Regions from separate parts of the Homo sapiens genome. Here region 1 is linked to region 2. Evidence: promoter capture Hi-C in human tissues and cell types (Jung and others, 2019). All regions are on one chromosome and are shown on one strand. Each heading gives the region's core, a stretch centred on a gene start or on the middle of the fragment in contact. The rest is flanking DNA. Distances are from core to core; before and after follow the strand shown. Region 1 overlaps LOC105373032 (a long non-coding RNA gene). Region 2 holds the start of APOBEC3C (apolipoprotein B mRNA editing enzyme catalytic subunit 3C).

Region 1 (5,971 bases), core at 2,866-5,365, 120 kb before region 2:
CAAATGACTCTGTGTATATCAGATCGGCATGTGGGTGTGTGTATAGGTGTATCCACCTATCTCCATGTCAAGAAATATAGATCTTGCCAGGCAGTGGCTCATGCCTGTAACCCCAGCACTTTGAGAGGCCGAGGAGGGGGTGGATCACCTGAGGTCAGGAGTTCAAGACCAGCCTGGTCAACATGATGAAACCCCATCTCTATTAAAAATACAAAAATTAGCTGGGCATGGGCGCGCCTGTAGTCCCAGCTACTCAGGAGGCTGAGACAGGAGAATCGCTTGAACCTGGGAGGTGGAGGTTGCAGTGAGCCTTGATTGCACCACTGCACTCCAGCCTGGGTGACAGAGCAAGACTCCATCTCAAAAAAGAAAAAAAAAAAGAAATATAGATCTCCATTATCCCTTTAACAGTGCAGAGTAATCCACTGTATGGATGTGACATTATTCATGTATATAATCAGAAGTTAATGGATCTAAATGTACTGTTTTCAGTTTTTTGAAATTACAGACAGGCTGCGATGAATATCCTTAAACACATGTCTTCATGCACTTGCCCAGTTATCTTCTTGGGATACCGTTGGTGGGATTTAGAGAAAAATCACTCACATTAGGGAGGGTATATACTGCTGACTTTGACCCATCAAATCCAGCCATGGATTCTCTGCAAACTGAGGGGCCACCCAGCTCCCTGAACAGTGGTCTTATTCTGCTGGGTCCTTGTGAGGGCGTAGCATAGCCTCACATCCTAAATTAAAGTCAGTTCACCGGCTGCTGCTCGGGTAACTGGCGAGAGAAAAGAGCCTTTGCCTCTCCGCAGCCGGGGAATTTCCAAATCCTGAAATTGTCCTGTCCAGACACAGTAAATAGTTTGGCCACAACAATCTCTGCATCCACCTCCCTCCCATCTGTCTGGGCTGGGCATGCCCGTAATGTTTTTCATTCTGTGACAGGCTTGAGCATCCTTTTCTTAAAGGAGACAAAGGAGATAAAAGGGCCTGGGCTCAGAATTTTGCAAGCAGAACACACGGAGGTTGTGCCAAGACAGAGATGGTGGCTCGATGGCCAGCTAATTCTTGTTTATCCAACAAGCCATGCTAGTTGCTGGGGAGACCCAGAGAAATGAGACACAGTCCCTGTTCATGGGGGTTAGCTGTGTAGTAGAGTTGATAGACCCATGGGGCCATGGAGCGGGTGTTGGGGATGGGGCAGAGGCTACTCCATTATCACAGACTTCAGAGTGTCTTTCCAGCAAGACTAGCCACACAGTCTGCCTTTAAAGTCCCCTGGTAAGTCACTCAAAATGATATTTTCAAGTGCCTAGCATTTACATCTTCTGGGTGTTGGGGATTGACATCTGTTATCACAGGCAATGGCGCTTTTATTATCATTGGAACAGGTGGATGGGGATGTCAGCCCTCCTCTGGCAGGACCAAAGCACTGGCCATCTGCAAAGGGAGGACATTTGGGTGTCCTCGGACTTGGGCAAAGGTGCACCCTAGGCTTTAGAGAGCCCAAACCAATTTTCCTCCAAATGTCCTCTATACCTGGTTTTTCTAGGTTAGGGTTCAGGACCCAATCTGCTTACATCCACAAATCTCTTTTAATTTAGAACAGCCTCTATTTTCATACCGTGAATTGAAGGAATTAAGCTACTGTCCGATAGAATATTCTGCCTTCTAGATTTCACTGATTGGTTTCTTACTGTGAGTTTGGATAGTTCTGTCTTGTCTAACATACCTCACTGAGTAATTCAGAAGGAGAAAGCAGAAAAAAACAAAAGTCAGTGAGCATAGAAAAGATGAGAGATGAGAATTATGGAATTACAAATTTTACTTAATGGGAATTTCCAGAACATTTCACCAAGTAACTGCAGACATTACATTACTTTCAAGCACGTCTGGAATATTTATGAAAATTGACCATTTATCTTGCCAAAAAGCAATCTTTTGTTAATGCCAAAAGGATGGATTGAACAAACAATATTTTCTGACCACCATGTACTTCAATAAGAAATAAATAACAAAAAAGCATAGAAATAGGAAAAACCTTTAAATAATTCATGGGTAAAAAAAGAAAGCATAACAGGTTTTAGAATATGCTTAGAAGCGAACAATAATGAAAATTCCACGTATCAGAACATATGAGAGGCTTATGATATAGGAGAAAAAGGCTGAAAATCAATAAGCCAAACATTTAACATGAGAAGTTACCAAGAGAACAGCTGAGTAAATCCTAAACAGTAGAAAAAAGAAAATTTACAGGTAAGAGCAGAAATAAATGAAACAGAGAGCAATCATAAAATTGACATGACGAACAAAGCCAAATTTTGTTTTTTTGAAAAAACTAATAAAACTGGCAAACCTTTGGCAAGACTAATTAGGAAATAGAGATGGGACCCATAAAGTATAGCAGAATTGAAAGGAAATTGGCTGGGCGCCGTGGCTCACGCCCGTAATCCCGACACTTTGGGAGGCCGAGGCAGGCAGATCACCTGAGGTCGAGAGTTCAAGACCAGCCTGACCAACATGGAGAAACCCTGTCTCTCCTAAAAATACAAAATTAGCCGGGCGTGGTGGTGCATGCCTGTAATCCCAGGTACTTGGGAGGCTGAGGCAGGAGAATCGCTTGAACCTGGGAGACGGAGGTTGCAGTGAGCCGAGATTGCACCATTGTACTCCAGCCAGGGCAACAAGAGCAAAACTCCGTCTCAAAAAAATTAAATAAAAATAAAGAAAGGAAACATGACTTCGATGAAGAATCAATTTTAAAAATGTAAAAATATGATGCAACTTTATGCCAATAATTTTGAAAATGTAAATCAAGTTGCACAAATTTTACATTTAAGACATTTTAAATGTAAACGATGTTTTAACCATTTAAAAAATTGAATTGGTGACTAAAAATCTTCATATCAAAGAAACAGCAGGACTAGACTTTTTTTTTTAAACAGAAGGGTTTTACCAAACATTTAAGGAATGAATACTTTCAAATACAAACTATTCCAGCAAGTAGAAAAATTACCAATACTTGCTAATAATTTTTACAAAGTTGGCTTAATCTGCTTGTTATCCCAACCAAAGACTGTTTGAGGAAGGAAAATATAGAACAATCTTTTCCATAAACAAAACATCAGTAAACTGAATCCAAGATAATACATCATGACCAAATTGGATTAGAGTACACTAGAATAGATTAGAAAAGTAAGTACGTAATTTTTCACATTAACAGATAGAAGGAGAAAAACCATAGGATCATTTCAATAAATGCAGAACAGGTGTTTGCTGAAATTCAACCTCTATTTATGATTAAAAAACTAAACAAATTAAGAATATAAAGAAACGCTTTTAAACTAATACAGGATGTCTTTTTGTTATTTATTTGTTTATTTTATGAGATGGAGTCTCGCTCTGTCACCCAGGCTGGAGTGCAGTGGTGCAATCTTGGCTCACTGCAACCTCTGCCTCCTGAGTTCAAGCGATTCTCCTGCCTCAACCTCCTGAGTAGCTGGGAATTACAGGCGTGCGCCCCTACGCCCAGCTAACTTTTGTATTTTTAATAGAGACAGCGTTTCACCATGTTGCCTAGGCTGGTCTTGAACTCCTGACCTCTGGTGATCCGCCTGCTTGTCCTCCCAGAGTGCTGCGATTACAGGCATGAGCTACCACGCTCAGCCATAAAAGATGTATTTTTTTAAAAATTCCCCACAGTGAAGACTTTAGTAAATATTAAAATGTTAAGATCAGTAACAAGCCAAGGAAACTTACTCTCACCATTCTATTAAACATTAAAGTATAGTAGGGCCAGGAAAAATGAATGAAGGATACAACATTGGGACAGAAGACACAAAACTGCCATAACTTCCAGATAATATGATTACTCTCTCTCATTGTGGAACTGCCTGGAACAGTGCCTGGTGTGCAGTAGGCACTCGAAAAATATTTGTTGATCATTATGTTGTGACTTACTTTATCTCAAGTTATTTTATTTATTTATTTTTTGCCTTGAAGCCTTCTGTTTCTTCCCCCCTCTGAATACTGAAAGATGTATATGTGCTTTTTTTTCTTCTTTTTTTGGAGACGAAGTTTCTCTCTTGTCGCCCAGGCTGGAGTGCAAGATCACTGCAACTTCTGCCTCCCGGGTTCAAGCAATTCTCCTGCCTCAGCCACCCGAGTAGCTGGGACTACAGGCATGCACCACCACGCCCAGGTATTTTTTGTATTTTTAGTTGAGACGGGGTTTCACTACGTTGGCCGGGTTGGTCTCAAACTCCTGACCTCAGGCAATCTGCCCAACTTGGCCTCCCAAAGTGCTGGGATTACAGGCATGAGCCACTGTGCCCGGCTGATCCTGGACTTTTGTTGTTGGGAAGCATTTTAGTACAGGTGCAATCTCTTTACTTGTAAGATTTATGTGCAGATTTTTTATTTCTTTTCAAACCAGTTTTGGTAATTTGTGTGTTTCTAGGAATTTGTACATTTCATCTCGGTTACCTAATTTGTTGGTGTACTATTCTCCCATAATCCTTTTTATTTCCGTAAGGTTGGTAGTAGTGTCCCCGCTTTCATTTGCGGTTTTAGTTTTTGGCATTTTTTCTTTTTTCCTTAGTCTAGCTAAAGCTTTGTTAATTTTGTTGATTTTTTTTTTCAAATATCAACTTTTGATTTTGTTGATTTTCTCTGTTGTTTTTCTACTCTCTGTCTCATTTTTCTCCATGTTAATCTTTTATTTTTATTATTTCCTTCTTTCTGCTAGCTTTCTGTTTAATTTGCTCTTCTTTTTCTAATTCCTTAAGGTATAAAATTAGGTTATTGATTTGAAATCTTTCTTTTTTGATGTAGGCATTTAGTGTTAGAAATTTCCCTTTGAGCATCACATTTGCAGCATGCCATTAAATCCTTGCCTTTTAACAGGAAAGTTTAATTAATTCAAATTTATTATGATTACCTATATATGAATTTATGACTACATCTTATTGTCTCATTTATTTTTTTTCCTGTTGTTTATAACTTGCTCTTTTTTGGACTGTTTTGAATAGATGAAGATTTTTCTCTTATTTCTGTTTTTCCACTTTGTTGGTTTGGAAGTTTTATATTCTGTTTTTATTCTCTCAATGACTACCCTGCAATTTATCATATACATTGCAGCCTTGAACTCCTGGGCTCAAGTGATCCTCCTGCCTTGGCCTCCCAAAGTGTTGGGACTAAAGGCATGAGCCACTGCATCTGGACTATCATATACATTCTAATGTTAACCAATCTCTTTTCTCTATTTTATCTTACCTGTAACAGAAATTTTACGTTTATTTTGCTTCCTTTGCAAACTTTATATTATGGAAAATTTCACATCTATACACAAGTAAAAAACAATATAGTGATATGGGTGCAGTGGCTCACACCTGTAATCTCAGCACTTTGGAAGGCCAAGGTGGGTGGATCACAAGGTCCAGAGATGGAGACCATCCTGGCAAACATGGTGAAACCCTGTCTCTACTAAAAATTTAAAAAATTAGCTGGGTGTGGTGGCGCGTGCCTGTAATCCCAGCTACTCGGGAGGCTGAGGCAGTAGAATTGCTTGAACCCAGGGGGCGGAGGTTGCAGTGAGCCAAGATCATACCACTGCACTCCAGCCTGGTGACAGAGTGAGACTTTGTCTCAAAAAAACATATGTGTGTATATATATAATATATGATATATATTATATATATAATTATATGTAATATTATATATAATACATATATATAATACATATATAATATATATAGTGAACACCCATGTACCAATTATGTCTCCAACAATTATCAATATTTTGCCAATTTTGTTTCATCTATTTCCTTATTTTTCTTTTTTTGTTTTCTATATTATTTTAAAGTAGATCTCAGATATCATGTCATTTCACCTGTAAATACTTCATTATGCATCTTTAACTCAGACATTTTGTTTTTATATAACCACTGTCTAATAATTACATTGTT
Region 2 (5,424 bases), core at 374-2,873:
ATTTTCTTGGTCCACACGGAACCCCTTGAGAGGTCCCTGTGGGCCGTGAGCCTGTTTGTAGACACTTGCTTCCACCGCTTGATGTCGCAGACATCGCAGTCCCTGATGTAGGGTCTGGCCCTATGGGGCTTAGTGGGTGTTCTCCCCGTGTGTGGAGATGAGAAATCGTAAAAAGTAAAGACACAAGACAAAGAGATAAAGCGAAAACAGCTGGGCCCGGGGGACCACTACCATCAAGACACGGAGATGGGTAGTGGCCCCAAATGGTTGCGTGCACTGTTATTTATTGCATACAAGACAAGGGGGGCAGGGTAAGGAGGGTGAGTCGTCCAAGTGATTGATAAGGTCGAGCAAGTCACGTGATCATAGGACAGGGGGCCCTTCCCTTATAGGTAGCCGAAGCAGAGAGGGAAGGCAGTATACGTCAGCGTTTTCTTCTATGCACCTATCAGAAAGATCAAAGACTTTAAGACTTTCACTATTTCTTCTACCGCTATCTTCTGAGAACTTCAAAGAGGGACCAGGAGTACAGGAGGAAAGTGGACAAGGAGCGTGACCATTGAAGCACAGCATCACAGGGAGGGGTTTAGGCCTCCGGATGGCTGCAGGCAGGCCTGGATACTATCCAGCCTCCCACAAGAAGCTGGTGGAGCTGAGCGTTCCCTGACTCCTCCAAGAAAAGGGAGACTCCCTTTCGTGGTCCGCTAAGTAACGATGCCTTCCTAGGCACTGGCGTTACCGCCTGACCAAGGAGCCCTCCAGTAGCCCTTATGCGGGTGTGACAGAGGGCTCACCTCTTGCATTCTCGGTCACTTCTCACAACAGCCCTTCAGCACCTGACCCTATACCCACCGGTTATTTCTTGGTTATATTAGTAATACAATAAAGAGTAATATTAAAAGCTAATGATTAATAATATCTACACTAATGATTGATAATGTCCATGATCATCTCTGTATCTAATTTGTATTATAACTATTCTTATTGTAAGTATATTCTTTATTATACTGAAACAGTTTGTGCCTTCAGTCTCTTGCCTCAGCACCTAGGTAATCCTCCGCCCACATCTCTGAGGGGCTGAACTGCCCCCCACCTTCTGGAAGCTGGGAGGTTGGAAGAGGGGATGCGTGCGATGGACTCAGCACACAGCTGGGAACTCGAGGCACACCTAAGCCTTCGCTTGTGCTGTGCGGAGTCCACACTTCCTTCCCCACTGGGGTCTCAAAACCTCCCCTCACTCAACAGGGTGGTGCTGCTCAAAGCTCTGGGCACACATTAGGGCTGGGGAGGGGGTGGTGGAGAGGGGGCTCCAGCCTGCCCAACCACCAGGCAACGGGGCACCTGCCCCTCTCTCAGCTGGGTCTGGACCCGCGTCCCAGGCTCAGGCTGCAATGCCTTTCTCTTTCTCTTTCTCTTCTTTTTGCAGTTCCGTTGGGTCCTGCCCAGGACAGATAAAGACAGAGCAGCCTGTCTTTATCGGAGGTTCCTCTGCCAGTAGGAGGGGCCCGGAGAAAACCAGAAAGAGGGCCAGAGCCAGAGAAACATGAAGCACCCCGGGGCCTCCCACACCAGTGCCTGAGCAGGAATGGGGAGGGGCCATGATTCACAAGGCCCTGGGAGGTCACTTTAAAGAGGGCTGCTCAACTGCAAGGACGCTGTAAGCAGGAAGAGAAGCCACAGCGCTTCAGAAAAGAGTGGGACAGGGACAAGCATATCTAAGAGGCTGAACATGAATCCACAGATCAGGTACCTCTGCACGCTTTGTCCGCCAGGCCCCTCCTGCCACTTCCTGCCAGGCGGTCCTGCTGGGCCTCAGCCCTGGCCTCCCCCTGCCCCAGCCCCACCTCTGGGCTCCCTCCCCCCTGGTTCCCCCGCTGCCCCCACTCCCAGCCAAGCTCCTTGCCCTGCTGTGTGGTCCCACGACTGCTGCTTCTGAATGGGCCACCTTCCCCACTTGCCCCAGCCCAGTCCGCCTGCTGAGACTCTCCCCCGAAAATCATGCCCGGGCTGGTGCTTCCCGCCCTGGGAGGGTGCTTCCTCTGTGTGCTTCCCACTATTCCTGGGAGCTCTGGAACTGGGAGAATTGAACCAAAGGATGATTTGAGCAATCAGGCATTTTGTTCTCAGCGCTTTGGTGCAATTTCTGTAAGATTTACTTTGTTTCAATACAAAGTCTTAGGAGAGGGTGTGGGGGAGGGAATGGTCTCTGTACCAGAAAATAAGTCACTTCTTCCAAAGATGCCTCCACTGTGAGCAGAGTAGGATGCACACGACCCCAGACACAGGCTCCTCCTCTGTGAGCACCGTTCACCTTTCAGAATGACACCTGCAACATGGAGTGTAGGAAAAAATATGATGATCAGGAGAAATGCTCTTATTTTAGGCCAGGCACGGTGGCTTATGCCTGTAATCCTAGCACTTTGGGAGGCTGAGGCGGGCGGGTCACTTGTGGTCAGGAGTTTGAGACCAGCCTGACTAACATGGTGAAACCTCGTCTCTACTGAAAATACAGAAAATTAGCCAGGGGTGCTGGCGGGCGTCTGTAATCCCAGCTACTTGGGAGGCTGAGGCAGGAGAATCCCTTGAACCCGAGGGGTGGAGGTTGCAGTGAGCTGAGATTGCAAACTCCAGCCTGGGGGACAGAGCGAGATGCCGTCTTTAAAAAAAAAAAAAAAAAAGTAGCAGAAAAACTGGGAGGTTGAGGGTGTTCCATTGGTAGCCCCAGAGCTGGGGTTCCAGCTAGGAGAGGTCACCCCGGCCCTGCTGCCCCTGCCAGCGTCCCCTCCTCTTTCTCTCTCCCCGTCTTCCTGCCTGGGAAAGCAGCAGACATTCTCAGGGCTGTGGAGGGATGGGGGAGGCCCAGAGCCCAGGGACGTCCAGGCAGCTGTGTTCAGTGGGCATCAGCCCTGAGGACTCCGGTGCGGGGGTCTCTGCATTGGGGTTTCTCTCTTGTGCCTTCAGAAACCCGATGAAGGCAATGTATCCAGGCACATTCTACTTCCAATTTAAAAACCTATGGGAAGCCAACGATCGGAACGAAACTTGGCTGTGCTTCACCGTGGAAGGTATAAAGCGCCGCTCAGTTGTCTCCTGGAAGACGGGCGTCTTCCGAAACCAGGTAGCACCAAAGTCCTAGTTACACCCTAAATAGGAGCTAAGCAGCTGGGAATGCAGAAAACGCAACAATAAGTGATGTGCCCGGCGTGGGCTCTCCTGTGTGCACTTTCCTGCCACATTTCTATTTTTTTTTTTTTTTTTTTGAGATGGAGTCTCGCTCTGTCACCCAGGCTGGAATGCAGTGGTCTGATTTCAGCTCACGGCAACCTCTGCTTTCCAGGTTCACGCGATTCTCCTGCCTCAGTCTCCCGAGTAGCTGGGATTACAGGCACCTGCCACCATGCCCAGCCAATTCTTTTGTATTTTTAGTAGAAACAGGATTTTGCCATGTTGGCCAGGCTGGTTTCGAACTCCTGACCTCAAGTGATCCACCAGCCTTGGCCTCCCAAAGTGCTAGGATTACATGCGTGAGACACCATGCCCCTGGCCTCCTCCCCACATTATTTATTTATTTATTTATTTATTTTGAGACGGAGTCTTGCTCTATCGCCCAGGCTGGAGTGCAGTGGCACAATCTCAGCTCACTGCAAGCTCCGCCTCCCGGGTTCACGCCATTCTCCTGCCTCAGCCTCCCAAGTAGCTGGGACTACAGGCGCCCACCACCATGCCCAGCTAATTTTTTCTTTTTTTCTTTTTTTTTTTTTTTTTAGTAGAGACGGGGTTTCATGGTGTTAGCCAAGATGGTCTCGATCTCCTGACCTCATGATCCGCCCGCCTTGGCCTCCCAAAGTGCTGGGATTACAGGCATGAGCCACTGTGCCCGGCCTCCCCACATTTTTTAAGTCCATGGCCCAGATCTTCCTCCCTGACTCTCCTGTGATCAGATCGTGGAGGGGGTTTGCTTCCTCCCAAAAGGCCTTGTTTAGCGCCCAGCACCCTCACTCTTGACTTTGTTTCCCAAAATCTTGTTATGGAGCTGTGCGTCCGGCAGTCCTCGGGAATCAGCAGCTGTGGGAAGCGGGGGGTGTTGTGTCCAGCGCTGTGTCTGGGCCAGTGACTGCGGGCTGGTGGGGCCGCCCCCGCCACTGCCCTGATTCCTCAGCAGAAGGCAGGCAGGGAACAAAGCTGACCCCAGAGAGCCAGGCCATAGCAGGGGCTGAGGATGCCTGGTGAATGGATGCCTGGGAGAAAAGATGGCAGAATTCACACATGAGTCTATGAGACAGGGAAAGAATCAATAAAATAAAGAAGGAAGGGGCCGGGCACGGCGCGGTGGCTCATGCCTGTAATCCCAGCACTTTGGGAGGCTGAGGCAGGCGGATCATGAGGTTGGGAGTTCGAGACCAGCCTGGCTAACATGATGAAACCCAGTCTCTACTAAAAATACAAAGATTAGCCAGGTGTGGGGGTGCATGCCTGTAGTCCCAGCTACTCAGGAGGCTGAGGCAGGAGAATTGCTTGAACCTGGGAGGCAGAGGTTGCAGTGAGCCGAGATTGTGCCACTGCACTCCAGCCTTGGCGACAGAGCAAGACTCCATCTTTGAAAAAAATAAAAATAAAAGAATAAAGAGAGAAGGAGAAGGATAGAAGAAGGGAAACTCAATGAATAAAACACCCTGGGGCCTACTATGTAGCCAGAAAAATGAAAAGTAAAGAAATAAAATAAGGCTGTGCATGTGGTTTATGCTCATAGTCCCAGAGCTTTGGGAGGGTGAGGCAGGAGGATCGCTTGAGCCCAAGAGTTCAAGATCAGCCTGGGCAACATGGTGAAACCCCGTCTCTAAAAAAATTATTTAAAAAATTAGGCAGGTGTGGCGGCATGCACCTGCATCCCAGCTTATCAGGAGGCTGAGGTGGGAAGATTCCTTGAGCCTGGGAGGTCAAGGCTGCAGTCAGCCCAGATCCCACCACTGCACCCCCTAACCTGTGCACCAGAGAGAGACCCTGTCTCAAAAATGAGTAAATAAGGAAACGGCCCGGGGCTCCAGGCCCGCCCTCTGCTCCCATCGCCCCACCCCTGCACTCCTCCTGCTCCTGGTCTGAGCTCCCCTGTCCTCCTCCTCCTCCTTCGCCAGGTGGATTCTGAGACCCATTGTCATGCAGAAAGGTGCTTCCTCTCTTGGTTCTGCGACGACATACTGTCTCCTAACACAAAGTACCAGGTCACCTGGTACACATCTTGGAGCCCTTGCCCAGACTGTGCAGGGGAGGTGGCCGAGTTCCTGGCCAGGCACAGCAACGTGAATCTCACCATCTTCACCGCCCGCCTCTACTACTTCCAGTATCCATGTTACCAGGAGGGGCTCCGCAGCCTGAGTCAGGAAGGGGTCGCTGTGGAGATCATGGACTATGAAGGTGAGACGTGGG

What was found. Contacts are between HindIII fragments. The study calls those that stand out against the background at their distance.
Region 1: a contact is called between a fragment that was not itself captured here and the fragment with the promoter of APOBEC3C in region 2, in 2 of the 25 tissues and cell types used here (aorta and pancreas).

The regions. Positions count from the first base shown.
Region 1 is chr22:38,890,538-38,896,508 of GRCh38, forward strand. All of the region lies in intron 1 of LOC105373032 (a long non-coding RNA gene), which reads left to right. Among named protein-coding and RNA genes, the nearest start is that of CBX6, 21 kb to the left of the region's middle. RefSeq lists enhancers at 728-897, 3,868-4,037. The HindIII fragment of the contact is 6,036 bases long and covers 1,098-5,971 here.
Region 2 is chr22:39,012,634-39,018,057 of GRCh38, forward strand. APOBEC3C (apolipoprotein B mRNA editing enzyme catalytic subunit 3C) reads left to right here and starts at 1,624. Exons shown (of 4, transcript NM_014508.3): 1 at 1,624-1,746; 2 at 2,962-3,118; 3 at 5,133-5,412. The coding sequence starts at 1,730. RefSeq lists enhancers at 836-1,454, 1,431-1,725, 1,455-2,072, 1,645-1,754 and a silencer at 1,865-1,914. The HindIII fragment of the contact is 14,453 bases long and covers 1-5,424 here.